Regions from separate parts of the Homo sapiens genome. Here all the other regions are linked to region 4. Evidence: promoter capture Hi-C in 16 types of primary human blood cells and fetal thymus (Javierre and others, 2016). All regions are on one chromosome and are shown on one strand. Each heading gives the region's core, a stretch centred on a gene start or on the middle of the fragment in contact. The rest is flanking DNA. Distances are from core to core; before and after follow the strand shown.

The links. Contacts are between HindIII fragments. The CHiCAGO score rates a contact against its expected background, and 5 or more counts as called.
Region 1: a contact is called between a fragment that was not itself captured here and the fragment with the promoter of EXO1 in region 4, in 4 of 17 cell types (naive CD8 T cells, naive CD4 T cells, total CD8 T cells and 1 more). The highest score is 7.2, in naive CD8 T cells.
Region 2: a fragment that was not itself captured here is called in contact with the fragment with the promoter of EXO1 in region 4 in 1 of 17 cell types (total CD8 T cells); the score reaches 6.1 in total CD8 T cells.
Region 3: a fragment that was not itself captured here is called in contact with the fragment with the promoter of EXO1 in region 4 in 1 of 17 cell types (total CD4 T cells); the score reaches 5.1 in total CD4 T cells.

What each region holds. Positions count from the first base shown.
Region 1 is chr1:241,615,008-241,619,041 of GRCh38, forward strand. The region is part of intron 1 of OPN3 (opsin 3); the gene reads right to left. Among named protein-coding and RNA genes, the nearest start is that of CHML, 23 kb to the right of the region's middle. The HindIII fragment of the contact is 1,487 bases long and covers 810-2,296 here.
Region 2 is chr1:241,632,968-241,637,147 of GRCh38, forward strand. The region is part of intron 1 of OPN3 (opsin 3); the gene reads right to left. It overlaps CHML (CHM like Rab escort protein), which reads right to left. Exons shown (of 2, transcript NM_001381853.1): 2 at 1-3,106. The coding sequence starts at 2,799. The coding sequence ends at 829. Among named protein-coding and RNA genes, the nearest start is that of CHML, 5.3 kb to the right of the region's middle. The HindIII fragment of the contact is 645 bases long and covers 1,852-2,496 here.
Region 3 is chr1:241,670,922-241,675,021 of GRCh38, forward strand. WDR64 (WD repeat domain 64) reads left to right here. Exons shown (of 28, transcript NM_001367482.1): 3 at 153-255; 4 at 3,723-3,826. All of the region lies in intron 2 of LOC124904603 (a long non-coding RNA gene), which reads right to left. Among named protein-coding and RNA genes, the nearest start is that of WDR64, 21 kb to the left of the region's middle. The HindIII fragment of the contact is 4,933 bases long and covers 1-3,886 here.
Region 4 is chr1:241,846,882-241,850,660 of GRCh38, forward strand. EXO1 (exonuclease 1) reads left to right here and starts at 1,323. Exons shown (of 16, transcript NM_130398.4): 1 at 1,323-1,472; 2 at 1,850-2,146; 3 at 2,231-2,335; 4 at 3,528-3,705. The coding sequence starts at 3,545. RefSeq lists an enhancer at 1,019-1,358. The HindIII fragment of the contact is 5,044 bases long and covers 1-3,442 here.

The DNA of each region.
Region 1 (4,034 bases), core at 303-2,802, 230 kb before region 4:
CGTCAGGAAAGGATATTGAACAAGATGGTTAACAATGCAAAAAAGGATCATTATTACACTAAGAGACCCAAGAAATATCCAGTATGACCAGAGTCTATGGGCTGAGTGGGAAAAAAGTTTGAATATAAAGTAACTTCTCTGTGGAATTAATTAAGGTTCAGAAGAATAACAAACATAAGCACAGTGGGGCCAAAGTCTAAAAAAAAAAAAAAAAAAACAGTTGGATGAAAGCACTTAACAGGAACTGAGAATTCTAAATTCTAATCCTAAATCAACTGCACTCATAGAATAAAAGTGTGAAGTGTGGTACCACAGATAAAATGGGAGGCATACGCTTTGTTTCCAACACTTAAAATTATTTCGTGAACACAGCAATCTAGGTTTTATGATAACCTACCACAGTATGCTCAAGAAAACTGCATCAGACTCTGATCCACTTTAGGAACACATTGTTTTGCTTAGTTTTCCCATTCCTCTATCCCCTATCTCGTATTTGCTTTTAAAACCAACAGAAAGCCTTTCTTAGGAAACATTTCTAAATTCATTTCTGTGCCTCATACCATTCCCACTATTCTAGTGCAGGTTCATATTCCGTAAATGACTGCTGTCAGCCATCTATGACTAAATTTCTTTTGTTTGTACAGCCTTTGTCATCCTCCTGGGCACCACATACCAGATTAATCATTGACTGGACTCTATTCGTGTGCCATCCCAGATCTCCGTGACTCCACTCACAAGCTCCTACTCCCAACTGTGTGCCCTATTTGCCTTGCTTCCCAGCAGCGGTGGCTCTATGACTATAGTTACAAAGCTTCAGCTGCTGCCACTGTCACCACCATTGCATACCTGCATGCAGATAGTGCCTTGCTGCACTGGACCCATGGAGGCTCTGGCTTCCCTAGTGGCTGCCTGAAGCTGGCTGATCCAACCTAGAGGCAAACGGACATTAACATCTCATGGAGCAGAGTTGGACCAATGGCCAAGAGACAGGAAGAAGCCAGAGATTAGATTGCTTGCACTCTCCTGTCATGCCATGGGTTGTTTCAAGCTGCGTTAGTATCAGGTGGTCTCTCTGAAGATGTCCTGCAAGACCCAGTGACCAATCGTGGCCAACTCGGTGGTGCATCCTCTCTCTAAGATTTGGCCTCCTCCTTTCCCTGCCTCTTCCTCTATTCCCTTACTTTTGATTCCCTGGGATTATGATCCCCAATAAAGCATTAGCATATATGCTTTGCCTTAGGCTTTATATGCGGGGAACGTGTGCTAAGATAATCATCTTATTACTTTCACAAAGCCCTTTCTGGAATAATGACCTGCAAAGCTCCCTTCGCATAGCATGCTGGCTATTAAGAAACTCTGTGTATTTCTTGCACTACCTAGTCAACCTTCTCTTTCACCATTTATAACTTCCTTAGTGCATACCTCACTCTGTCCGTCCACAACACAAACAGACTATCTTCATGGCTGCTATTTCCTACTTACTATATTTTGGTACAATTCTGTGTACTTATGTCTTACCTCTCCAATTAAATTGTAAACTTAAGTATGACATACTTAAGTATGTCTTTGTATTTTGACATCATTTTGGCACCGAGAATAGTACAAGGGATTATTATGTATTTGCTGCTGATAAAAGTTATATACACATGACCATGTTTCTTTCCAAATAACAAGGAAAAATCCTGGAGTAAACATGGTCATCCCTGTAATTAACCAAACACTCAGGTGAAATGTTGCTTAGAAATAGCCACAGTTGACATTTCAATGAAAAATTTTTTTTTCCCTCAGGGAACTAGCAATACACAGGTCAGAAGAATGTAAAACAAGGCCAACTCCCTGCTGTTTTTTACCTAAAGGATCACTTTTTCAACTCAAAATATGATTTGACAGTCCTTACATGATAATTTTTGGCTATTAAAAAATCTATAAAATATTCATTTTTATGAGTGTTATAAAGTCAAATGACAATCCTGTTGGATTTATCATCTCTTATTCTCTAATCAAAATAATACATTATAATAACTTTATTTCATATGATATTTTATAATTTTCAAAGTACTTTTTAATGTATTTTTCTAATTAGATCTTTCCAGACATGTCAGGCAGGAAAGTCTCATCGTCCCCATTTGATGAGAGTGTGAGAAAAGGGGCTGATATCCGTGACTAGCCTAAGGTCACAAGACTAGGAAGGTTCTATTTGAATGAGAACCCAGACCTTCTGACTGCTAGTGTGGAGCTCTATTTGGATTTTCCCCAAAAAGATTACACAAAGCAAGTTGTTTCTCAGCAATGGCGAAGCTTGAGGTCTTTTTAATTCTATGAAAACATTCAACACATGAATAAATTGTGGAATAGCTCTGTGACCTGCAATGATGAGTCTAGTTTCTAAGTGTTCCTTCCTAGATTATTAACCTGACAGCAAATGAAAAAAATCCGATATCCCAGAAGAGCAAATGAAAAATATGAGGGAATCTCAGAGGCACTGAATTAAATCTTCATTCCATCATTTATAATTTACAAAGCTCTCAAGGGAGCTCAGGGTTTAGGTTTTAGAGCGGGTGATAACAACACTGATTCCATTTAAGTCATTTTCTATTACCCTGCTGCTGATGCAAATGGAGAGCACGGAAACACAGAGGGCGAGTGCGACTCTTCTCTCAAGAATGAATATCACACGCTCCACTGTAATTGTGTGTGAGTAATTAATCAACCAGAAAATGTGATGTGATACCTCAGGACCATATGAGAAGAATGAGAGAAGAAGCTTGTCATATATAACGTGCTAAGGAAAAACATAATTGCTATATAGCCTGTGCAGTTCTATGTTTGGGCAAAATGCTTTAAGTTGTAAACAAACTTGTGAGGTGGAGGCGTTGGAGTATAAAGCAAAACCCATATTGGTGACCAGTGTGGAACAATCTGGACAGGCAAGAAAAATCTCATTTCCTTGGAAGTCTTAGTCATCCTGATCTGAGAATGTCAAGTAATGAAGAACTAAAAAAAATAAATAAATAAAAATAAAAAAAAGAAGGTGGGAGAAGGAAACTTTAGAAATATGAGATATTTTCCCCAAGACCACAAAGTAGGTGTTAGAACAAGGCTAGTTCCCAGACCCATTCACATTCTACTATTTCAAGCTTCTCTTCCACACTGTCAAATTGGGGTTAACATGAATTTAACTCATCTCTTTGATGTTCAATTTAACACCTTCTGGATCAGAGCAGCATGTCTCTTTCCTTTAATAAGAATGCTGTTTCCAAATGCCAGCTTTTGAAATAGCTACATACGAAACTCCTGAGGAGATGGTTTAAAATGCTGATTCCTAGGCTCTGCCCTTGAAAATACTTGATCCAGTAGGCTTAGGACAGAACGTGAATATCTGTAAGTTTCAAAGTTACCACTGATGATCCTGACTTTCAGAACGATGGGTCAAGATTAAAATCAGATTTCCTTTAATATAATCTCTATCACTATTTGCTCAATTCCCAGGTTTTCCTCAATTCCCATCACTGGTGCAGGAGCACAAGAAACCACTCCAGATGCCTCTGAAGCCTTCAGTCTCAATCCCACACCAAGAGGTGCAGCGCAGAGGGGTGGCCCTCTCTCCTGTCTCTGATGGATTCCGCAGCCAGCCCATTTCTGGTCCGTGCTGACCTCCATCGTTTTCAGCAGAGCAACACCGCCATCGTTCTGTGTCTCTTTGTGCAGGCAGCAGCACAGAATTGGGAATATATTTAAGGACCTTAATGTTCTATGGAATGGTTCTGTTCAATGAGAAGACTTTCATGTATATGCCAGGTTTAAGGCTTTCTTCTTTTCTCATTGTATCTTTTTTTTTTTTTTGGCACACCCACTTTTGTATTTATTTATTTTTGCTTATTTCATCTTATCTAAGAATTCTTCTACATCTTTAAGAAATAGAGAATAAAGAGATATGCCTCAAGCCTCCAGTGGGCAGGCTAGTTTATATATATATATATATATTTCAGATATAATTAAGGATCACTCCAGGCAAGGAGACAGTACATACTTAC
Region 2 (4,180 bases), core at 924-3,423, 210 kb before region 4:
GGTCTAAGTTACTTATTGGAAGCTATTTTAAGTGCCAGGGCAGGGCTCTGCAGAAATTTTCTGAAGTATTAAATAAGAATAAATCTTATCTTTCAAATTTCCTTTGCAATCAACCTCCCCAAAATGAGCTTTACAACCACTAATTGAACTCCAATTCTTTTTGTAAATTAGAATACTGTGGTGGCATCATTGCCTCATCAGTTACAAGGGTCAAGTGAGTATTATAAACTTCAGACCTTCACAGTGCATAAAGGATCATGCAAAGCTAATCTTTAAACGATTATAGACAAATGTATTTTATTATCATATTGGCATTTGTATTAGTTGCTATTCCTACCACCATGTCTATACATTTATATTATATGCAAAAGATCCACATAATTTACCATTTGTGTATGTTTCACTATTCGAACAGGCCGCAGCAACTGTAACAGCTGCAAAAGTAATTAAAATATTACTTGGGTATTACTAATTGTTCTGTAGACAAAGATAAAATCTGAAGATCATTAGCAAATACATTACCTTTAAGCTGAGTTGCTAATATGGAACCCTTACATATATACCCAATACTAAAATAAAGCTAACTCTGTTTTAAGATTCTGGGTCATATAGCCCATTCTAAACAAAATGTTCAATAATCAATAAATCACTCATTGATAGGTTAACAAAGATATTCAATGCTGAATGTCTGAGAGTTAAAGACAACATCTGCATAGCATTCATCATATATAACCACTTCTAATTACTCATATGGGAAACTGTCCTTTAAATGAGAAAATTCTGATGCCATGAAGGAGGTCCAAAACAGCATTTCGAGATTGCTCTTTTCTAATTTTGAAGGTGCTTCTCTGGGCTTTCTAGGTTTTTGCTTTCCTCAGAGGATTCTAGTTTGGCCATTACTACATTATTGGTTCCAGGAGCCTCTGGCTGCTTATCATCACCATCAAAGATAATGTCTTCTGGATTTGGAGGTGGAGGGCAGAATTCTTCAGTTGGAAAGATCTCCTGGAAAAGTGTTTCAGCTTGCTTGACAGCATGCTCATTTCCCAGGCCACAGTCAGGCCCAGAGCAGACATAAACATTGGAAGGCAAGCCATTATACGAGCTTCTGCTGATTCCCGAGGAATCTCTCATATTAAAATAAAGAGCCCACAAGAGTCTTGGCTTTGTAAGTTCTTCCTCGTTTATTTCTGTTTCAGTATACGGAGTGAATAATTTCTTCACCACTGATTCTAAGTCTTCTCTTGCTGTTTTAGAAGATGAACATGTCAAATGTACCAGATAGGTGTCCTTCATGCATGTCATGGTTGAAGAACATAATTCTGTGACCCGTACAGCACAAGCTCCTGGCTCTGCTGGAGGAACTATCAGAATGGAAGTCTGCTGATCTAAATCTGTCTTTAGTATAGACTGATCTGTAATGAGTACTGCCCTAGAGATCTGCTTATACTGCACATTTGAGCATGTTTCCTCAGAAAGGTAACTGTCTTCCACAATAAAATATTTAGCATTTATTCTTTGACCAAAGTGATCTATAATTGCTTTACATCGTCCAGATTCTTTGTCGACTACAAAGCATTGTACTTTATGACGAAGACAATAGATTCCACCAAAAACTGCACACATCCTACAGAAACCCTGGGGAATTTCTCCTTGGCCATACAAGGGAAATAAAAAGGGGGTGTTGCCAAACCGTCCGAGACACTGAAGGAAGTTTTTAGTTGCGTTAAGACCATCTATTGTAGTGCAAGATGATTCTGATGTCATTGCAATTGAGTGCAGTACAAAATGTTGAAGGTTGGGAGTTAGTTTTTTAGTTTTTAAGTATTCTGAAAATGAACACTGCCTGAAAGCTTGGTATTCATCAGGATGTTGTTCATACTCTAAACAAAATGTGAGAAATTTCATTAGCATCCTCTTTTCAACCATGGTGAGTTCCTTGCTATTAAAGACATCTGCTCTGGAACAAGGAACTTGTTCTACCTTTCCTTCCCGAAATGCAAGAATCCTAGTGACATTTTTAAATTCTACATAACGACTAACATCTGATTTGATTAAAAGATCAATTAGCAATCCTTGAGAATACAGCAGTTTTGACACCAAATCAATATTAAACCTCCTGCCTTCTTTAACTATTTGAGAGTAAGTAATCCTATTTCTAATTGGTTCATCGGCCTTATCTTCTACTGTAGATTTGCTTTCATCTTTATCTCCATCTTTATCTGAAACTGTGTGCATACAAGTTTTATCTCCACAATACTTTTCCTTCTCCACTGATTCCTCTACATCAGTTACTTCTAGTGAAATCTCTGTATCACTTTTCTGAGTGTGTTTTGCAGGCATTTCGTCGCTATTAAAATACGATAACTGGCTTTCTTCAGGTAATGCAGAATCCAGAACTTCAGTGAAGGTATTAGACACCCCCAAAGAAGGATTTTTCTGCAGAGCACCAATCTCTTCAACGTTGTCCTCCATATCCTGACTGGCGTAGCAAAAAGCTTCTGTGTGTTGAATAGTTTCATCCTTCTTGCGAAGAGTGATGGCTTCTTCTGTTTCATGGATCAGGTCCTGCCATACAACAGTACTTTCTTCCCCAATGTCATTGTTTTGCTGATACTCCTTCAACCAGGATAGCAATCCTGAAAAGCTGAAACTAGCCCAGTTTCCTCCATAGTAGCTTCTTGAATCAATATGCAGAACCCTCTGACCACTTCTTGAACATGCAGCTGCAAGGATGGATTCGGGCAAACCTGTCCCTATTATAACCACATCAAACTCTGTGGGAAGATTGTCCGCCATTTTAGGAAGTAACAGCGTCTGGTGACAACTGCTGATGAAAGAAATGAGGTGTGATTATGCTGTAATAAAATCTGTCCTTCTGATGTTCCAGTTATCCCAGAAGCACTGAAGTTGCAGGTCCTAGCTGTTTAACGGTTACCCTTTTAAAATATTTTTTTTCTTATAAGTCAGTAGCATAAAAACATGAGCAAGTACATCTAATCACATCTGAGAATACTAAAATGGATGTGTGGTTTCATTTCTGCATTTCATCTTAGCAGTAAATGTCAAAATGCATCATATATGCATTTGTGACTGGAACTCTTCTCTGAAAGAAGAAAATTCAAGAAAGAATACATTGTAAACAATATAAGAGAAAAATAATTTCATGCAACAATGACAATCCATTGGAGTGTGACATCTTATTTGGACATAAACCTCTACTAAAGCATGTCTTAAATGCTTTCTCACATATTTTCTAATTTCTTGAGAATGGACAATAGAGATATAACAGCCCTCCCAAGAATCAGGCAACATAGTAATAGAGAATGAACATAATGTTCCACAAAAATAAAGAAGAAATAACATAATACAATTCTCTAACTTTAGCTTTTAAGAAAACTATCATGTGAATAAATCTATACACAGCTGTGAGCTTAGACTAAAAGGAACGCATGGCTCCACTGTTTATAGAAACAGATTATAAACTATGTGCATACTGCCATGATTCAAAATATTTCTGTGGCCATTACAGTCTATGTGTGATTCCAGAACAGCTGAATATAAGACCTTTCCATGCCACAACCACCCTTAGGATCTCATGGTAGCAACATGAGACTATTTCTACTCAATTACTAGTCAGATTATTACAAAAGGATTAATTCAGTAAAACAACTGGCCATTTAAAAATATTTAGGCTCATAATAGCCCTGAGGAGGAAAATGTATTAAAAATATTATATGAATGTACACATGCATATAAGTAATAAAGGAAAAAAGTGTGTAAGTGTAAGTAAAAAAGGAAAACTTCTGATTTCATATTAAAATATCTTAACATAAATAATACCTACTTCTAACATTTGAATACAGTGATGTTTGCATTTCGCCACTGTCTCTGCAACCCTGAATCTCTGCATCCCAAGCAAAAGGTCTATCTAAACATCCTCTGCCAAGACTAACACTGTTTGTTCTTATTTTTGAAGGGGAAGTTTAAAAAAAAAAAAATAATAAGGTTCTCCTGTTAACTTTGAGCATAATGCTGGTTACATTCCATGTGCGGAAGACATCTGTGTGATGCCCTGTGTGGCCAGAGGTAGAAAGGCCAAGGTGCTGAAGAGCATACTCACCTGAAAGTCTTTAGGCTAAAGCAACAATACTGCTAAACTTTCTAATATTCATCATTG
Region 3 (4,100 bases), core at 170-2,669, 180 kb before region 4:
GTCTCCTGGTATAGGGAACCCCCTGACATTCACAAAGCAGGGTGCTGGCTGTTAATCCTAACTAGCTTTAAATTCAGCCAACATGAGATCTGCTACTTTATAGCTAATTCTGAGGCATGCTGCATATTTATATGTGCTGTTTGGGATTTCAGATCTTTGGATACTTCTCCTCTGAAGAAGATCCTATTGCTTCCCAGTTGGATGAAGAAAATTTGGTTTTCTTTGTGTCTAGAAAAAGGCGAATTTTAATTTCAGGTGACATTTTAATTTTCTCTTCCAAATTAGTATGAGTTTTAATATTTTCCTCAAGAATACTGGAACTATATTTTCCATAGAATCACTTTTCATTTTATGTATTTGTTCAATACTTTATCACTAGGTGTCGGGGGTGGTGAGAGTTTCATATGCAGTATCAGAAGAAACTCTACTACTGTTGAAATGGAAATATTATAATTTCTTTGAAGGACACTAAATAGAGAATGTGATGGAAGAAAATTCACATTTTCCTGAAAAGGCTCAGACTTCCAGTTAAACCTCTCTGCAATGATGTCACAATAATGCATGCTCCAGTAAAAGAAGTCATGTTTCTTTTAAACTATTCTTAAAATTAACTTTTTGAGTTTTCACTAAACATGACTCTTCTATTCACTCTCATCTACCCGGGATTATCTTAAAGATGTTTAACCTGACATCTCTTGAGAGCTTGGGCCAGTCATGGATGGGCACTGTCCCAGTCTGGGAAGTCTCTAATGTATGTGTTCTTCATTTTCAACTTTGAGCCTGGGACCCAGGACCTCCCATCCCTCTCCACTCTTAACACCTTGGGGTTTCTTCTCCTTCTTCCCTCCATGGTGGGAGGAGGTCAGGAAGAGGGAAGACAAACTTTCAAACCTACTCCTGTCTTCCAGCATTTCCTCTCATATTCTGAGATGAAGGTCAAATGTGATGTCTCTTAAAAAAGTACCGGGAGTCTGGGCACAGTGGGTCATGCCTGTAATCCTGGCACTTTGAGGAGGTCAAGGGGGGATGGATCACCTGAGGTCAGGAGTTCGAGACCAGCCTGGCCAACATAATGAAACCCTGTCTCTACTAAAAATACAAAAATTAGCCAGCCATGGTGGTGTGCACCTGTAGTCCCAGCTACTCGGGAGGCTGAGGCAGAAGAATCACTTGAACTCCAGAGGTGGAGATTGCAGTGAGCTTAGATGCCACCACTGCACTCCAGCCTGGGTGACAGAGACTCTGTCTCAAACAAACAAACAAACAAAGCACCTGGAAGGCTTTGTGAGCCAAACCCACCTTCATCCTTGACTCTTTCTTAGTCCAACCACTGACCTCAACAGAGCCTGGCTTCTGGCCATGGGAACTAGAAAAAAAAAGAAAAAGAAAAAGAAAACACACACACACACACAGACACAAAAGGGCTGTCCCTGCTGCCACCACACTGAGCTAAGGAGGGGCCCCAGAGCAGGGGAGAAGTGTGGCTGGCAGTCTATGTTAGGGCTTTGCAAGTATTTTTCTAGATGGCAGTTGCATTCTGTAATTCATTTATCACTCAACAAATATTTGCTAAAGTCTACTATGTAGGCCAGACACCTTTCTAAATGCTAGAGACAGAGCGGTGAACAAACAGACACAAATCCCTGACCTCATGGAGTTTACATTCCAATAGGGAGAGGCAGACAATAGCAAAAATTAAACAAGTAAAATATACAGTATGTCAGATGGTAATACACACTATAGGACAAAAAGCAGGTTGTGGGGAAAATAAAGCAGGAATGTGGGAAGGAGAAGGTGGTTTGAGGATGGGAGCATGGTGGTTGATGGGGTGGTCAGGGAAGTCCCCACTGGGAAGGTGAAAAAGATCTGTAGAAAGTGAGAGAGCAAACCATGCATTTCAGGTAGTGGGGAGAGTGGTGGGAGCTAAGGTTGGAGAAGCAACGATGGGAGTGGGGACAGGTGTACTGGGACTTGTATGACATGCTGAAGACTTCTGAATGAGGCACAAAGCTACAAGGGGGCTGTGGATAGAGGAGGGAGTCACCTGAGTTATCCTTTATATTCTTTTCCAGCTTCTGCATTTAAAATAGTCTGTACTAGTTCATGTCCTTTGTAGGGACGTGGATGAAGCTGGAAACCATCATTCTCAGCAAACTATCGCAAGGACAAAAAACCAAACACCGCATGTTCTCACTCATAGGTGGGAACTGAACAATGAGGACACATGGACACAGGAAGGGGAACATCACACACCAGGGACTGTTGTGGGGTGGGGGGAGGGATAGCATTAGGAGATACACCTAATGCTAAATGACGAGTTAATGGGTGCAGCACACCAACATGGCACATGTATACATACGTAACAAACCTGCACATTGTGCACATGTACCCTAAAACTTAAAGTATAGTAATAAAATTTAAAAAAAAATAGTCTGTAGTGTGGAAGGGGTGGAAGCAGAGAGAATGATGGTGGCTTGCAATAGGGCAGTGTTTCTCCATCTTTTTTTTTAAATTACTGAACCCTAAGGAGCCTTTTTAGACTTTCTGTTCCTAATTGCCTTCCCCTCTGCCTTATCCTGCTCCATGCCATTTTAATGCCTCAGGTATTAATTACTAAGTGTATCCAATTATATACTACATGCGTATCTGTGCTTTCTGCACAAAAAGAGTAAAATGGATTCATGTTCCCTCCAAGAACTAATTTGTACCCCTTTGGGGGGCAATATCTTCTCTGTTGAGATACACGGATGAGGGTGGTAATACTAGGGTATGACACCTGTTCACTTGCCTTTCTTTCCTAAGAGTTTGCAATTATAAAAATTAAGTGCCCTGGAAGAAATTCTATATATATGGCTTTATCATTCAGTGCATGGCCATAGAAACATAAAAGTGTCTAGCTAGTCTTTTTTTTTCAAAATGCACATTTTTTTAAGTCTTAATGACAGTCCTAGTTTCATTCTTTTATATTGAAAAGCCTGAGATGGTATTAAGTTTTTATCATGCGTAAACCACAATGGTGAGAATTCAAAGAAAGGAGTCCTAAAAGATGTGAAATATCTCAAAAAAGAAATGACTCCAAACGATGTTTAGAAAACGTGTTCTCTGTGAAATATGCACATGCACGTGTGTGTGTAGGGGGTGGGTGGGTGTGTGTCTTGCCTTTTCTCTGGGAATTAATGTACCACATTTAGTTAGAAAGCTCTATATATGCAAATTAGTATCTCTGAGGATCATTAAAACACAATGGTTGCCGGGTTTTAGGTTTTATTCTACTTTAATTTTTAAGTAACTTGGGGCTTTCTAGCAAAAAAGCTGGCTGTTTATCTTTTTTTTTCTTTTCTTTTTTTTTTTTTTTGAGACAGGGTCTCGCTCTGTCACCCAGGCTGGAGTGCAGTGGTGCAATCACAACTCACTGCACCTCAACCTCCTGGCTCCAGAGATCCTCCCACCTCAGCCTCCCGAGGAACTGGGACTATAGGCATGACCCATCACATTCAGCTAATTTTGTGTTTTTGGTAGAGATGGACTTTGTCATGCTGCCCAGGCTGGTCTTGAACTCCTGGACTTGAGCAATCCACCTTCCTTAGCCTCTCAAAATTCTGGGATTACAGGAGTGAGCCACTTGTGCCCTGGCCATATCATTTTTTAAAAAAACAAATCTAACAAATGAGTTTCAGCACCTTTACTGCTGAAAGTTGAAATGAATATTATGCTGTTGACAGGTAGTAGAAGACGAGATGTGATTAAGAGCATTGTCAAGATACCTCACCTGGATTTACTAATAACAGCTACTCAGAAAGGATTAATAACAGTTTTTAATAACCAGGTAATTTCTTTTTCTTTTTTTAACTGAATGACTCATTTTACAATAACCAGGTAATTTAAAAGCTTGGATTTCTCCCCCCCTCCCTCCCTCCCTTCCTTCCTTCTTTCCTTCCTCCCTCCCTCCTTTCTTTCTTTCCTTCTTGCTTTTATTTCCTTCCTCTTATTCCTTCCTTCCTTCTTTCCTTCCTCCCTCCCTCCTTCCTTCCTCTCTCCTCCCTTCTTTTTCTTTCCTTCTTTCCTCCCTTTCTCCCTCCCTCTCTTCCTTCCTTTCTTCT
Region 4 (3,779 bases), core at 73-2,572:
CTTCCTAAGACCCCCATGTGTGATATATTCATGGTTGGATTCTAGGTACTGAAGCAGTTACTACAGCTGGATAGTCCAATGAGTGTAAGAAGGCTTCTCTACAAACACATGCTGCCCACATCGAAGTTCCTCTTTAATCTACTGCAGTTTGAAATTGTCCCCCACTTTCTCCAAGAGTCCACTCCAAGCTAGTTTAGGGTTAGGTCTACCATAGCCTTTGGAAGAGGGAGGGAAGATAACTTTTCTCATCTCTCCTAGTCCCAGCTCTAAAGACCAGAACCAGGGAGAAAGCAACACAGCTTTTCCAAACACATTCCCCAAATGTGGCACCTTTTCAACAATTTTAGTAACAAATTTAAGGCATCATAGATGCCTTTAAAATTGGCATGATAGATGTTAGAGTGATCATAAAAAGACTTTAAAAGAGGAAAAGATGTAAAGAACGTAATCAAATGGGGAGCATGTTTAACAATGTGCTCACTTCTTCCCCTTCAATTCCTTGAATTGAGTCTGCATTATCATTCCTATTGATCTTTGAGCCCAGAACATTACTTTGTGGTCTGGCCTAAGGTTTCTTCCAATTTTTTAAATTACAATATCCCTAAGAGGACAGCGACGAGGTCTGGGGTGTTATGAGGATTGGAAACCTAGCCACAAGTGACCATGAAAGTCCAAAATGCCTCTAAAGTCTTTGTCTCTAAGGCCCATTTTCAAGGTCTTGTTATATAGCTAATTTTTCCCCGACTTATGTCAAAAATAAACGAAGCTGGGTTCTAGGTAAAATGGTAGGGGCAGATTTTAATCACTACTACTACTGCAATGGGGAAAAGAACCCAGCGTGAACTGAATTCAATTTCGATTTGTAGAGGCAACCGGGCGTTTTAAAGAGAATGAAGGAATTAGGATGGGACTGATGACGCCGAGGGGGACTGAGCAACTTTTTCAGGTTTGAAAAGCCTCAACATCAACGCGCGACGGCGCTCTTTCAACATCAGCCTCCAGAACTGGGGCTGCAGCCAGGAGGGAACTACAACGCCCAGCAGCCCCGGCGGGTGTAAACACTCCCAACTTCCGAGGCGGTGCTCACCATCGGCCATCAGCGCCAGTGCCACTCGCGCCCTCAAGAAGCCGCACGGAGTTCGGGCCGGCAGCAGCGGCTGCAGTCGTATGGCAGTGAGCCGCTGTCTACCCAGCGAGACGGAGAGCTCAGGACGCAACCCTATGAGTTGGAAGCCGCAGGAGGCGGAACCGGGTTGCGGGATACGCGTTGACGTCACATCCTCTGGGCGGGGCCGCAAGGAACCCGCGCAAATTGAAAGGTCAGCCTTTCGCGCGCTGTGTAGGCAAGTTACCCGTGTTCTGCGTTGCCGGCCGTGGGTGCTCTGGCCACAGTGAGTTAGGGGCGTCGGAGCGGGTTTCTCCAACCGCAATCGGCTCCGCTCAAGGGGAGGAGGAGAGTCCCTTCTCGGAAGGTGAGAGGAGCGGGCTGTGCGGAGGCTAATGGGTGGGTTCCCTTGGGGGTCGACCTGCGCGTCACCTCCGACCCTCCTCTCGGGATTCGGGTCTTCCAGGAAGGGAAGGAGAGGGTCTGGCGTGATCTTCCCAACCCAACAGCGGAGCCCTTAGCCTGAGTGGAGTATGTGTTTTGTTCCGAGGGGACGTCTGGCAACCAGAGGTCTGCAGTTCAGTGAACGGAGGGAGATAAGAGAGCAGACGATTCCGGGCTGGAGCAGGCGCCAGGGTTGCCAGACTTACCTCATTTTTCCGCAGAAGCTGGCAGTCCAGGTTTTACATGCAATCTCTCCACCTTTAAATGTTGACAAGTACATTTTCCCATAATATTTTGCAGGCCTAAGGAAACGTGTCGTCTGGAATGGGCTTGGGGGCCACGCCTGCACATCTCCGCGAGACAGAGGGATAAAGTGAAGATGGTGCTGTTATTGTTACCTCGAGTGCCACATGCGACCTCTGAGATATGTACACAGTCATTCTTACTATCGCACTCAGCCATTCTTACTACGCTAAAGAAGAAATAATTATTCGAGGATATTTGCCTGGCCCAGAAGAAACTTATGTAAATTTCATGAACTATTATATCCGTTTTCCTCGGAGTGAGAGAAAACTCTTTTTAGATATCATCTGAGAGGTAAGAGACTGTTTTTCTGAAACTGTGGCTTGAGGACCACCTGCATCCAGATTAACTGCTTTGTTTAAAATTCATTCACAGCAGAACTAGTGAATCCCAGTCACTGAGTGGAGTTGAGAGTCTAAGAACCTCTGAAATTTGAGAACTGCTGGACCAGAGCCTTTAGAGCTCTGATAAGGTGTCAACAGGGTAAAGCTGCCTCCTGATCCTGTACTTTCTTTCTTCCTTTCCTTCCAAACTTAACGTTTGATAGGAGAGATTTGTATTATGAAATGCTAAGCAACTGCTCAGTGCCCATTACTGACTTTTTATTGTAGAGTGGGGGGAGGTCGTTTCATCAGAAAGGGTTGTGACAGTTCCAGAATCTCTGTATAGAAAGGGCTTAGGGGGCTGCAACCGGAATGGAAGGGGGTGGAAAGTTAAAGCATTTGTCTTGAAGCTGTATTTGCATAGCAGACGCAGTTTCACAGTTCTTTAGGGTAGCTTTCAGAGAGGCTGATGGAGTTGCCCCTGGGCGCCACCACTGTTTATTACCAGAATGTTCGTGCTTAGAATAATGCGTTCTAATAGCAGTGAATTTCAGTCCTAAAAAAGTACAGGATCATTTCTGTAATTCTTTTTGAATTTTTCCTTTGTTTTTTAATTGAAATACTTACCTTCCTACAAACTGTTTTGAGTTTCTACTCCTATTTGAATTTGCACGTTGACCCTTATGATTAATGCCCTTTGTAGAGGCAATGCGATGCCATCGCATGCATGGTTTTGTTTGTGCCTGGCTCCTTGAAGCATGTGTCAGGAGTGAAAGTGCAAAAGCACTTTGGAAAGACTAAACAAACAATAAGCAACAGTCAAGTGGCATTAGAGGTAGTATTAGTGATTAATGTAAATTCTACCCTATGGAAATTGTTTGATAGGGAGGAGCCCAGCTAAAATATTAAAGAGCAGTGATTCTTGAATATCTGAACAATTTCTGGCCGGGCGCGGTGGCTCACGCCTGTAATCCCAGCACTTTGGGAGGCCGAGGCGGGCGGATCACGAGTTCAGGAGATCGAGACCATCCTGGCTAACATGGTGAAACCCCGTCTCTACTAAAAATACAAAAAATTAGCCGGGCGCGGTGGCGGGCGCCTGTAGTCCCAGCTACTGGGAAGGCTGAGGCAGGAGAATGGCGTGAACCCGGGAGGCGGAGCTTGCAGTGAGCCGATATAGGCCACTGCAGTCCCTCCTGGGCGAAAGAGCGAGACTCCGTCTCAAAAAAAAAAAAAAACAACAAACCAATTTCTGCATTGGACTCCAAGCTTTCTCTTCATTTGTCTAAGATGTTTTAATAAATGTATTTTTCTTTAAATATTACTGTTCTCCCTGTCTCTTTTCATATCAGGTAGTTAATTTGGCACCATGGGGATACAGGGATTGCTACAATTTATCAAAGAAGCTTCAGAACCCATCCATGTGAGGAAGTATAAAGGGCAGGTAGTAGCTGTGGATACATATTGCTGGCTTCACAAAGGAGCTATTGCTTGTGCTGAAAAACTAGCCAAAGGTGAACCTACTGATAGGTAAGTCTGGACCTTATGTTAATTCTTTGACAATTAAGAATGAGACCTACAGTGCCTTTTTTTCTCCCCCAGAA